Regions from separate parts of the Homo sapiens genome. Here regions 1, 2 and 3 are each linked to region 4. The links are contacts of gene promoters, found by promoter capture Hi-C in blood cells and fetal thymus (Javierre and others, 2016). All regions are on one chromosome and are shown on one strand. The core of a region is centred on a gene start or on the middle of the fragment in contact, and the rest is flanking DNA. Distances in the headings are between cores, read along the strand shown. Region 1 overlaps HEBP1 (heme binding protein 1). Region 2 holds the start of FAM234B (family with sequence similarity 234 member B). Region 3 overlaps GPRC5D-AS1 (GPRC5D and HEBP1 antisense RNA 1). Region 4 holds the start of DDX47 (DEAD-box helicase 47).

The links. The method cuts DNA at HindIII sites, captures the fragments that hold promoters and counts their contacts. A CHiCAGO score of 5 or more calls a contact.
Region 1: a contact is called between a fragment that was not itself captured here and the fragment with the promoter of DDX47 in region 4, in 3 of 17 cell types (endothelial precursors, megakaryocytes and naive CD4 T cells). The highest score is 9.9, in endothelial precursors.
Region 2: a fragment that was not itself captured here is called in contact with the fragment with the promoter of DDX47 in region 4 in 2 of 17 cell types (total CD8 T cells and naive CD4 T cells); the score reaches 5.8 in total CD8 T cells.
Region 3: a fragment that was not itself captured here is called in contact with the fragment with the promoter of DDX47 in region 4 in 1 of 17 cell types (naive CD4 T cells); the score reaches 5.7 in naive CD4 T cells.

The regions. Positions count from the first base shown.
Region 1 is chr12:12,982,127-12,984,826 of GRCh38, forward strand. The region is part of intron 3 of HEBP1 (heme binding protein 1); the gene reads right to left. The region is part of intron 2 of GPRC5D-AS1 (GPRC5D and HEBP1 antisense RNA 1); the gene reads left to right. Among named protein-coding and RNA genes, the nearest start is that of HEBP1, 17 kb to the right of the region's middle. The HindIII fragment of the contact is 2,444 bases long and covers 56-2,499 here.
Region 2 is chr12:13,042,616-13,045,315 of GRCh38, forward strand. FAM234B (family with sequence similarity 234 member B) reads left to right here and starts at 1,766. Exons shown (of 13, transcript NM_020853.2): 1 at 1,766-1,825. The coding sequence starts at 1,789. The HindIII fragment of the contact is 197 bases long and covers 1,350-1,546 here.
Region 3 is chr12:13,001,800-13,004,499 of GRCh38, forward strand. The region is part of intron 2 of GPRC5D-AS1 (GPRC5D and HEBP1 antisense RNA 1); the gene reads left to right. It also overlaps the pseudogene HTR7P1. Among named protein-coding and RNA genes, the nearest start is that of HEBP1, 2.9 kb to the left of the region's middle. RefSeq lists an enhancer at 1-530. The HindIII fragment of the contact is 621 bases long and covers 952-1,572 here.
Region 4 is chr12:12,812,033-12,814,732 of GRCh38, forward strand. DDX47 (DEAD-box helicase 47) reads left to right here and starts at 1,314. Exons shown (of 12, transcript NM_016355.4): 1 at 1,314-1,422; 2 at 2,099-2,192. The coding sequence starts at 1,336. RefSeq lists an enhancer at 1,141-1,450. The HindIII fragment of the contact is 15,992 bases long and covers 1-2,121 here.

The DNA.
Region 1 (2,700 bases), core at 28-2,527, 170 kb after region 4:
AACAGCTTCTTATTGAACACTTGTTATATTCTAGCCAAAGGCCCTGCCCTTGGGAAGCTTGCATTCTAGTGGGGAGAGGGCAATAAATAAATGAGCAGATAGAGATATATAATGCAATTGATTATAAGTGAAGCAAAGCAAAATAAAGCTGGATAAGAGGACAGAAAAGGACAGGGTGCTATTTTCAATAGAACGGCTGGACAAGGCCCCTTTTAATCAAAGTGAGGGGGCAAAGCAGGGTGCTAAGACTGAAAACCCTTGGTCCCAACTTCCTGTGGTTACAAACAGGGTTGAATTATCTAGGAACATGGGCAAACACTGGTCTGTAAATCTCCTAAGTGGTAATGTGGGAACCCCCTAAGAGTTTAGCAGTTGAGCTCTTTCTTCCAAACTTCTCTTTCTCTAGGCGGAACTTCCCAAGCTGCCAATGGCCTCCATTGGGGCCTGGTCATTTAGAGGGAAAAATGACATCAGCAACCTAGGTGCTGACAGCTGACAAAGTTCTTTCAAATGCACAATGAAACCGGCCTTTGCAATCATGCCTTAGAAATCTTATTTTATAGATGAGAAAACTGAGGCTCAGAAAGATTAAACAACTTGCTGCAAGTTACAAAATTCATAATTATTGGAGCTGAGGTTCTAACCCAAGTGTATCTGCAGTAACTTTGACTTTTTTATTGTTAATTCTAATAAAACTTGATCAAATTCTCAAAGGGAGGTGAAGTTAGGAGGAGGAGAATAGGCTAACATTTACTGAGTGTCTACCTCATGTCTAGGATTGAGTAGGTATTTACAGGTATTATCATATTTTATCCTCACAACACCATAAAAGCTAGGTACTCATGCCCATCTTACAGATGAGGAAACTGAGGTACAGTGAGGCTGGCAATATACCAAAGGTCCTATGGCCACTGAATGATGAACTGGGTTGGAGCATAGGTTACCCTGAAAATAAACTCCTGGTTTCCAACTTTTTCCTTTATATCTAGACATTTCATTTAAACCGTGAAAGTTTCATTAAGACCATCAAACTTCTCCTGCTGTTGGTCCCTATTGAGAACCTGGTGCTGAAATGAGCTGAAAAGGCCAAACTCTAACTTAAGTGCATAGAGAAAGGACAGTAGTCTGGAATGTTGCTGCTGGTCTAAGTGTGAGGATAATTCTATTGCCTCTTGTGAATACTAAACATATTCTGATAGTGCTATTTTTTTTCACAGCATTCTATTCATCTAAAAGCACCGGTAATTAACGATGCTAATAAATGTATAATCCCTTTGTAAACATCTCTTCACAAGGTCATAAAGAAGGAAGACTGAATGAAGGACGCCAGGCTTTCATTTTAGAATTAATTTTGTCATTGAATGCACTCACTGCATTATTTGATAGAGTACTTTTGCATTTGAAGTAGTACATTTGCCTTCTACCATCTCATTAACATTGCTTTCAACAGAATCAGAAATAACACAAACCACTGCAGGGTAATTTTGAATGCTCATTTGACTATGCAGTGACATCAAGTGGCGAGTTGAGGAATGATCATATGCTGTGTGAGAACTCCGTGTTAAAAATTCCATGGAGCCAGGCTAGACACCACATTTGGCACTTTCAGCTGTTTAGATTTCAGAGAATTAAAAGGAAATGGTCACCGACCTGCCTTTGATAGTACCCGTATACCCCTTCCCACCATAAGAAACCAGCGTTCCTTAGAGAAATGGCTAATTCTAGCTCTAGGGCAAGAAATGCTAAGATGTGCTCAAAACATCTCATTATACCAGCAAGCCAGGGAGCCATCAACGACTACTGGAGCTGTGTCAAAAGGACCAACAAACCAACTTGAAGAGGCTCCCGCTGGCCAACAGTGGGGCAATTAGAGCATCAATAAGAATAATATCTGTAACAAACTGAAACGTATCAAATATGTTTAAATTCATATGTTTATAATTACACTCAAAAAACGAAGATGCAGACCACTTTACCTTGAGGATGTTACAGAATGAAATTATCATTCTGAAAACTGGTAAATAAAGAGAAGGTATCAAGTAAGCATGTATCTGGCTTTTTCTATATGAAATAAAGGAAGCCAAATAGTAAACGAGGGGAAGTTTCTCTTTACTGAAATATTGCAGGTAATAAAAGAAGAAGGAGAAACAGAGAACATTATCGTTTTATGGCCTCTAATGGAACAAGACATCTAGGCAATGATGAACTATGGTCACCAACATCACTCAATCAGGGACAATCAGACACTGTGGGCCCCTGAAGGAAGTAAACACCACCACGTAGGAAATATTCTCACCAAAACTTCAAAAACTTGAATCTGATCTAGTCTTTAGTTTCAACTACTAATTTACAGGCAATACGGGGCTCAGAGGGATGTGGTAAAATGTCACGGAAATATAATCAGCAAAATCCAGTACAGATAATAAGAAGACAAATGATCCACAGATGGAAAGGAAGAATGTAAAGTTGTGTTGGTAAAGAAATTCACAGATTAATAAAAGCTTAAAAATGTACCATCAGCCAGGTGTGGTTGTGTGCAACTGTAGTACCAGCTACTTGAGAGGCTGAGGTGGGAGGATTACCTGAGCCCAGGAGTTTGAGGCTGCAGTGAGCTATGATCACACCACTGCACTGCAGCCTGGGCAACAGAGCAAGGCCTTGTCTCTTAACAACAACAACAAAAAGAAAGTACTACAAAAT
Region 2 (2,700 bases), core at 198-2,697, 230 kb after region 4:
ATGAAATGTATTATTTGTTATTAAGTTACAAATTTTAAATTGTTAAAACATTAAGAAATTATCGATAAAAGAAGAGTGAATACTTAGAAAACACTAAGTGCCAGGCACTGTTGTAAGTGCTTTCTACATATATATTTAATTCTCAGGAGAACTCTATAAACTAGGAACTGTTTTGTCCCCATTTTGCAGATGAGAAAATTGAGGTGGGGAGAAATTAAGCAACTAACCCTCTGCCTGGCATCTAGGAAATGATAGAGTCAGGATTTGATCTCGGGAGGCCTGGCTCCTGGCTCCAGAGCCTGTGCTCTATCAGAGACAATGACATTTTTTTTTTCCAAGGGAAGAAAGGAGGTGAGACTGATTGCTGGAGACTCTCAGATTACTCCCACAGGATAGTCCTGTCTGCAGTTTCTCACGGGAATTAGGCAGCCTGCAAATGAGATGTATCTTGGAGCTTTTGTTGTGACACTCAGAAGTTACATTACCTTTCTATTTCTCAGCTTTCTCTTAAACAAAACAAGGAGAGTGGGACTAGATAGCCTCTAGGATCTGTTCCAGTTCTAAGATAACACAGTATTAGCATTCCTGCACTAAAATGCTGATCACTTGCGTGTGGGAAAGAAGCAAGTCAGTTCTTCCTTCTACACCACTGTGCCTGGTCCTGAGGCAAGCCAAGTTCAGAAGTCAGAGAGGGCCTGGGTGTTTGCATTTTCCACAGTGACCTCAGTGGGTGTTTGGGCAGCAAAAGTATTCACATTCCACTCAGTAGCTAGAGAGGAACACACAGGTATTCTCTATGTAAAAGGTAAGGATCCTGATTCATTTGGCAGCTGCTTTGAATTTTTTTCTTTAATTGAAAAGAAAGTACATTAAATTTGAGAAATACTATTCTAAGCTGCAGTTCCTATGTTAAAATGGAAAAAAGTTATGGAGGGATGAAGGAGATTTCCAGAGGGACAAGGAAGACAAAGTGGGGGAAAGCTCAGGGAGCCAAGGAAGGAGGAATTCCTGGGCATCGGGCTCTCCGCAAAAATCATTCAGGCAAAGCTGGGGTGATTACGGGGAGCGTGCAGATGCCTTAAAGGTCAAGCATTGAAATCTGAGGAGCTGGAGATGCTGCATCTATTGGATGTATGTACACAGTCGGATCCTCCTTCTACACCCTTCAACTAGAAGCTGCAGCGTAGGGTGCTGAGTAGACACCTGTAAAGAACTGGGAGCAATAAATGAGGGTTCGAGCTCCAGGAAACTTCAACTTCTACCTAAGAAGCGTAATAGAAACACTCTTACTAGGTGCCTACTGTGTGCTGTGTGTTTTAAACAGGTCGTATCATTTAATTCTCATTGCAAGCTTGTGAAGTAGGTAGTATGTCTTTAATTAAAAAAAAGCAGCGGCAGCTCAGTCGCCCCAAGGGACTTGCCCAAGATGGCCCAGCTAGTAAGTGATTCAGGCAGGATTCAAATCCAGTCTGCCTGATTTCAAAGCCCACGCACATTGCACAATCCACACCTCCTTAAATATCTCCTTCGAATCATTTTCACTGCAAGCTTACGGGGTATTTTCTCCCCATTTCACTGACGAGGCAAGTGAGACTCAGAGTGGTGAGGTGACCTGCATAGGTAGGGTGGGAGAAAAGCCTGCGGAGCGTGTACTCTGGCTTGGCCTCCCTCAGCTCTGTCCCCAGCAAGCGGGTCCCACCTTTCCCGGTCCCAGCCCCACGCACCGCCGCTCGGAACTACACTTCCCGGCAGAACGCGGGCGCGCGCACGCGCACCGGGGCCTCAGCCATGGCGACCGTGCTGTCCAGGGCGCTCAAGCTGCCGGGTAAGGAGTCGCATGCTTGCGACCACCCAGTCCCCGCCGGTGTTGGAATAAGGGGAGGCGAGGCTCTGGGGGCGAGGCCGGTCGGGCCCTGGCCTCAACCCAGACTCAGCTGCAGGCGCCCGGTGCCGAGGAGGGTGCAGTCCCTTGGGGCTGGGGTCTCTGTGCCACCAGAGGGCGAGAGGGGCGCCCAGCGGGGCAGGGGTCTCGGGCGCGGGGCGAACCCGGAGACGCGCGGGGAGAGGGCGCCGAGCAGGTGTTACGGCGGGGAATGTCAGAACGCCGGTCGCCGCTGTCCCGAGGGGAGGCTGGCGAGAGGAGCATCCTTCCCGAGCGCCGCGGACCCAGCACCGCAGGGACTCCGGCGCCTTCTGTCTTGGCTGGACCTGGGCGGGGGCGGCGGGACGGCGAGTGGCCCTCTGTGGATCATCCCCTCCACCTAACGGCAGCAACGACGCATCCATGAGGCAGGTGGGACAGGTATTTACGTCCCTTCCTAGTTTACAGAAGAGAAAATGAGAGTTATTTGGCTAAGTGAATTGTCCAAGGTCTCACAAGTATTGGGAAAGCTCGGCCTTGAACGTCAGGGGTCTTTTCACTCTAAATCCTGAGCTTTTGATTCCACTTGGTCAGTCTCCAGCTGCCGAGATTAAGCATGGGAAATGATTTGGCACCTATAAGTTGAAGATAATGTATGGAATCTTCTTTAAGGCAGCATTAGGGGTGATGACAACTTCCAGAGCTGATTCAGTACTTCGGGCAGCAGCTCCAAGTTTTTTTTCCTTTTTTTTTTTTTTTCCTCCTAAACCTCCAGAGTAGGATTGTACTGTTAGAAAGTTGATATTTAAATAAAAGTATATTTATTCCACCCAAGTAAA
Region 3 (2,700 bases), core at 12-2,511, 190 kb after region 4:
CCTGGTGGTATCTCCGTGTGCTTCGTCAAGAAGCTCCGCCAGCCCTCCAACTACCTGATCGTGTCCATGGCGCTGGCCAACCTCTCGGTGGCCATGGCGGTCATGCCCTTCATCAGTGTCACCGACCTCATCGGGGGCAAGTGGATCTTTGGACACTTTTTCTGTAACGTCTTCTCCATGAATGTCATGTGCTGCACGGCCTGGATCTTGACCTTGTACGTGATCAGCATCGACAGGTACCTTGGGATCATGAAGCCTCTCACGTACCCTATGAGGCAGAAGGGGAAATGCATGACGAAGATGATTCTTTCTGTCTGCCTTCTTTCCGCCTTTGTCACTTTACCTACCATTTTTGGTCGGGCTCAGAATGTAAACGATGATAAGGTGTGCTTGGTCAGTCAAGACTTTGGCTACACGATTTACTCCACCGCAGTGGCATCCTAATCCCCATGTGCGTCATGCTTTTCATGTACTAACAGATTTACAAGGCCGCCAGGAAAAGCGCGGCCTAACACAGGTTACCTGGCTTCCCTCGAGTGGAGCCAGACAGCAGTAGTCACCCTGAATGGCACAGTGAAGTTCCAGGAGGTGGAAGAGTGTGCAAACCTTTCGAGACTCCTCAAGCATGAAAGGAAAAAATATCTCCATCTTTAAGCGGAAACAGAAAGCAGCGACTACCTTGGGGATCATCGTCTGGGCCTCCACCATGTGCTGGCCGCCCTTTTTCCTCCTGACAGCCAGACCCTTCTGTCTATGGCACTGCCTGCAGCTGCATCCCACTGTGGGTGGAGAGGATATTTCCATGGCTGGGCTATGCAAACTCTCTCATTAACCCTTTTATTTATGCCTTCTTCAACTGGGACCTGAGGACCACCTATTGCAGCCGGCTCCAGTGCCAGTACCAGAATATCAACCAGACACTCTCAGCTGCAGGCATGCATGAAGCCCTGAAGCTTGCTGAGAGGCCAGAGAGACCTGAGTTTGTCCTACAAAACTCTGACTACTGTAGAAAAAAAAGTCATGATTCATGACTGAAAGAGGGATAATGGAGATGAAATAAACAAGGCAAAATAGAGGTGGAAACAGAAGAAAGTCATTTGCCAAGACTGCAGAATGGAATGCAGCTTCTGTCCTTTCTTAGGATGGCTAAAACGTGACAAACAGCATGACCTGATGTACAACATATCTTATGAGGGAGATGGTGACCTCTCCTTTTTTCTGTGGATCAGTGTTATTGTGTGTTCTCAGTTTAAGATAGCAGATCATCTCAGCAGTAAGCACACTGACAGAATTGAGTTCCAGAAAGGAAGCAGTTTCAGGTTCTTAGCACATGTCCAAATCCATGCAAGTGGGAGAAAGTTCCAATGCACACTTTCCATGCTTCCGAGTCTAGGTCTCGTGGTGAATATTCAGCAATCATTCATGAGAAAGAATGTATTTTGTTGTATGACAGAAGGGTTTACCAAGCAAACTGTGGTAAGCATAGTATCGAATATGTTGCATGTCCATTTTAGAAAACAGAGCCCAGTCATCAGCTAATACAAATGATTTCCCAGAGCAGTGTTTGTTTCAAGCTTCTGTCAAATAGTTTGGCTTTTCTGCAGGGTCCCTGTAACTTCCCCACAAATGTACTTCTTTGTTAATTCACTTATTGTTATGGTGTGGCTCAGGAACAGGTCTCAGGATGGAGAGCAGCATACAACCTGAACAAAGCTTTTTCTTGTGCTCTGAAGGGTCCTGAGACGTGAGGGGGATGCCTTCCATGAGGATTTTTATCTCAGTGAAGTGCGAGTGGTACCCACCTGTATTGTCATTAACATGATTATTGGCATGTTTTTGACTCTCATTTTTCACAAGGGTGCAGTGGGGCCATGGACCATCCCATGGGATGGTCCATAACTGTATGTTATATGGAAATAGTGTGGGAATAATGGGTTTTCCATGAAAGGTTGTGATGCTTCTGGAGATGGGGGCATAAACGTGTTCATTCTTGTTGAGCAGCATTGTGTTAAACCAAATTGTGTGAAGTGGAGGTCACCTGGACCACTCCTGGGAAATGCTCCAGAACACCAGTCTGTTCCTTCTAGAAATTTGTTCTCTGTATTTATTTTTATTTTTTATTTTGAGGCAGTGTCTCACCCATCCTGTCTCCCAGGCTGGAGTGCAGTGGTGCGATCTCGGCTCACTGCAACCTCTGCCTCCTGGGTTTAAGCAATTCTCCTGCCTCTGCCTCCCAAGTAGCTGAGATTACAGGCACCTGCCACCACACCTGGCTAATTTTCGTATTTTTAGTAGAGAAGGAGTTTCACCATGTTGGCCAGGCTGGTCTCAAACTCCTGATCTCAGTTGATCCACCTGCCTTGGACTCCCAAAGTGCTGAGATTACAGGTGTGAGCCACTGTGCCCAGCCTGTTCTCTGTATCTTAAATCAACTCTGTGCCAAAGCAGTTCTGTCCCCTGACTCCCACCCCTACCCACCAAAAAGTGGTAGACATGAAGGGCAGGTAAGGGAACAGAAAATGTCTCCTTGCAGCTATATATATTTTAAACGAACTGTGTAATAAGTATGAGCTAAGGAGACAGAAAGACAGTAGATGAGAAAAGAAGAGTACCTATACCTACAAGGGGCAAAATGAATGCAATCCTTCATTTGATAAGAGAGAACTGAAAGAGAATATTATTTTTCTACAATAAAGCAAG
Region 4 (2,700 bases), core at 64-2,563:
GTTTTATTCTAATTCTTCTCCCTCTGCAGGCAACCATTCTAAAATATTTCAAGTGTATCTTCTGTTGGATGTGTTTTAGCAGAATGTGATATCTGTGGGCCTATATTTTAATATACTTGATATATTTTATGCTTTTCTCACTAAGCACTAGGTTTTTCAGATCTAATCATATTGTTAAGGGCATGTTTGTAGACACCATGTTCACATTTTAACTATGCATTTTCCCAGTGACGGACACCAGATTGCCCCCAACTTCCCATCCTCAGGAATAAAACTGCAACGAGCACCCTGCGCAGTGTGAGACCCAAGTGACAGGCCACAGGAGGGCACTCGCTGGCCATGGGGCATGCAACATACAGCTCTGAATTTGCTGCTTTCCAGAATAGCCTTAGTAGCTTCACAGTCTTGGTACTTGGAATTCTCTCACTCTGGAATGATTATCTCCTGGGATCTTAAAGCGTTTTCTCCTGCTCAACAGTGAGGTCTTAACTCAAATATCACTGTCTCAGAGAGGCCTTCCCAATCTCACAGTTATCCCCACAACCCACCCTCCCCAGGTTACTCTGTAATTTTTATGTGAACAGGGTTTCACTCTGTTGCCCAGGCTGGAGTACAGTAGCACCATCTCCACTCACTGCAGCCTCAACTTCCGGGGTCAACTGATCCCTCAACCTCAGCCCCCTGAATAGCTGGGATTACAGGCGCATGCCACCATGCATGCCTGACTGATTTTTGCATTTTGCAGACACAGGGTTTCGCCACGTTGCCCAGGCTGGTCTCGAACTCCTGGGCTCAAGTGATCCGCCCGCCTCGTCCTCCCACAGTGCTGGGGTTACAGGCGTGAGCACACCCAGCTACTTTTCACAATTTGAAATGCTCTGTGATAGCTTATTTATGATCTGTCTTCTTTTTCTTCACGAGGGCAGGGGTCGCTGTCCTATTCACCAGCCATCTAGCATAGCCTTAGCAAATGGTAGGTTCTCAACATTATTGAATAAAGTAATGACATAATAAAAAAATAGTATTGTAATATCAATCCGTTCCAAACTCTATGGTTAGAAAAGCGGGGAACATAACTGGCGACACACGTAGGGAAGGCTCTTTAAAAGGGACCTAAAGGTCAACTGGAGTCCCTGGTGATCAGCCCCTTCTGCACTCGGATCTATTCCGCAAGCCTACGCGCCCATATTCACTGGGCCCCACCTGCCTAGCGGACGGGTGCAATCCCCGGCAAGCCCGCAGGGGGCGCGCAGAGCACGTCGTCCGGGGAGAACTAAAACTACATTTCCCAGCATCCCGCGCGCCGCAGACCCACTTCCGGAGACCTCACACAAGATGGCGGCACCCGAGGAACACGATTCTCCGACCGAAGCGTCCCAGCCGATTGTGGAAGAGGAGGAAACTAAAACATTTAAAGACCTGGTGAGAATGGATGACGCTGGCTTCTTTTATGTACTCTGGTGCTAGGCTCAGGGAGACCCCAGGTACCTTAGATCCCGCTCTGATAGTGTACAAAAGCATCTTGGGGCCTAGCTTGGGTTTTCCCCAGAATTTCAGAGGGCTGGGTTTCGGACGTGCTCTGAGTTTGGGTGGTGGGAGGGCTGCTGGGCCCTGAGACCCCCTATTTGCCCTATTCGCCACTTTAGTGTGGCAACGTTTGTATGTGCATCCAGGAGGTTGTACATATGGGGAATGGAATTGGTCTCTTTATAACTGGAGCTTTGGAGTCAGATGAACCAACCAGATTTGAATTTTGACACAGTCTCTTACTGAGGACAAGTTGTTACCTCTCTGTGTTTCTCTTTCCACATCTGTAAATTGGGGATAGTAATAAGTACTTACCTCGCAGAATTGTTGTGACGATTAAATGAGATGATACATGTAAAGCACCTGGCCTTGGCCTTGGTGAGCAGAAAGTGTTCGTTAAGTCTTGAGCTACTGTCTCATGGTATAGTTAAAGAGTAGGCTCTGAGATGCACAGTAAATACCTTTTAAATCAAATACAATGGTTGTACATGATGGGTCTGACAGTCAGTTAAGTAGGAGGGAGGTAGGGGTGTGCTGTTCTTGGCTAAGGTATATTTTTCTGAATTCCAAGGGTGTGACAGATGTGTTGTGTGAAGCTTGTGACCAGTTGGGATGGACAAAACCCACCAAGATCCAGATTGAAGCTATTCCTTTGGCCTTACAAGGTAGGTTGTATGACTTCGTACAGATTTAATATAAAGTTATCTCAATTAGATACCCCTTTTGAAAGCTGTTGCTTGCATACTTCAAGTGAAATAAGGATATGGTCACTAAAGGTACAAAGTTTGGGTAATGGTATTTGAAAATGTCATTCTCCAATTTTACTGAGCTTACTTTCTGTCTTAATAGCTGAAAGGGTTTGTTCTCTGCCACAGATGCTGACTTTAAGGAAGCCCTAGGTTAAAGTTAAAGTATATTAACGACAATCTTGGTAGACTTTATGCATCAGTGGGCGCACACTTAGGGAAGGATGCCTGGAACACATATGTGTGTCTTGAGGAGTTGAGAATTCTTGCTGTGAGCCATGTTTATCAGATTTGTAAAACAGTGGTTAAAGCAGATTGATGGCTACTGGAACTGAAACTAATGGGATGAACTTTTTTCTTTTTGAGATCTTTTTTTTAAGATGGAGTTTTTTTTGAGATAGAGTTTCGCTCTGTCGCCCAGGCTGGA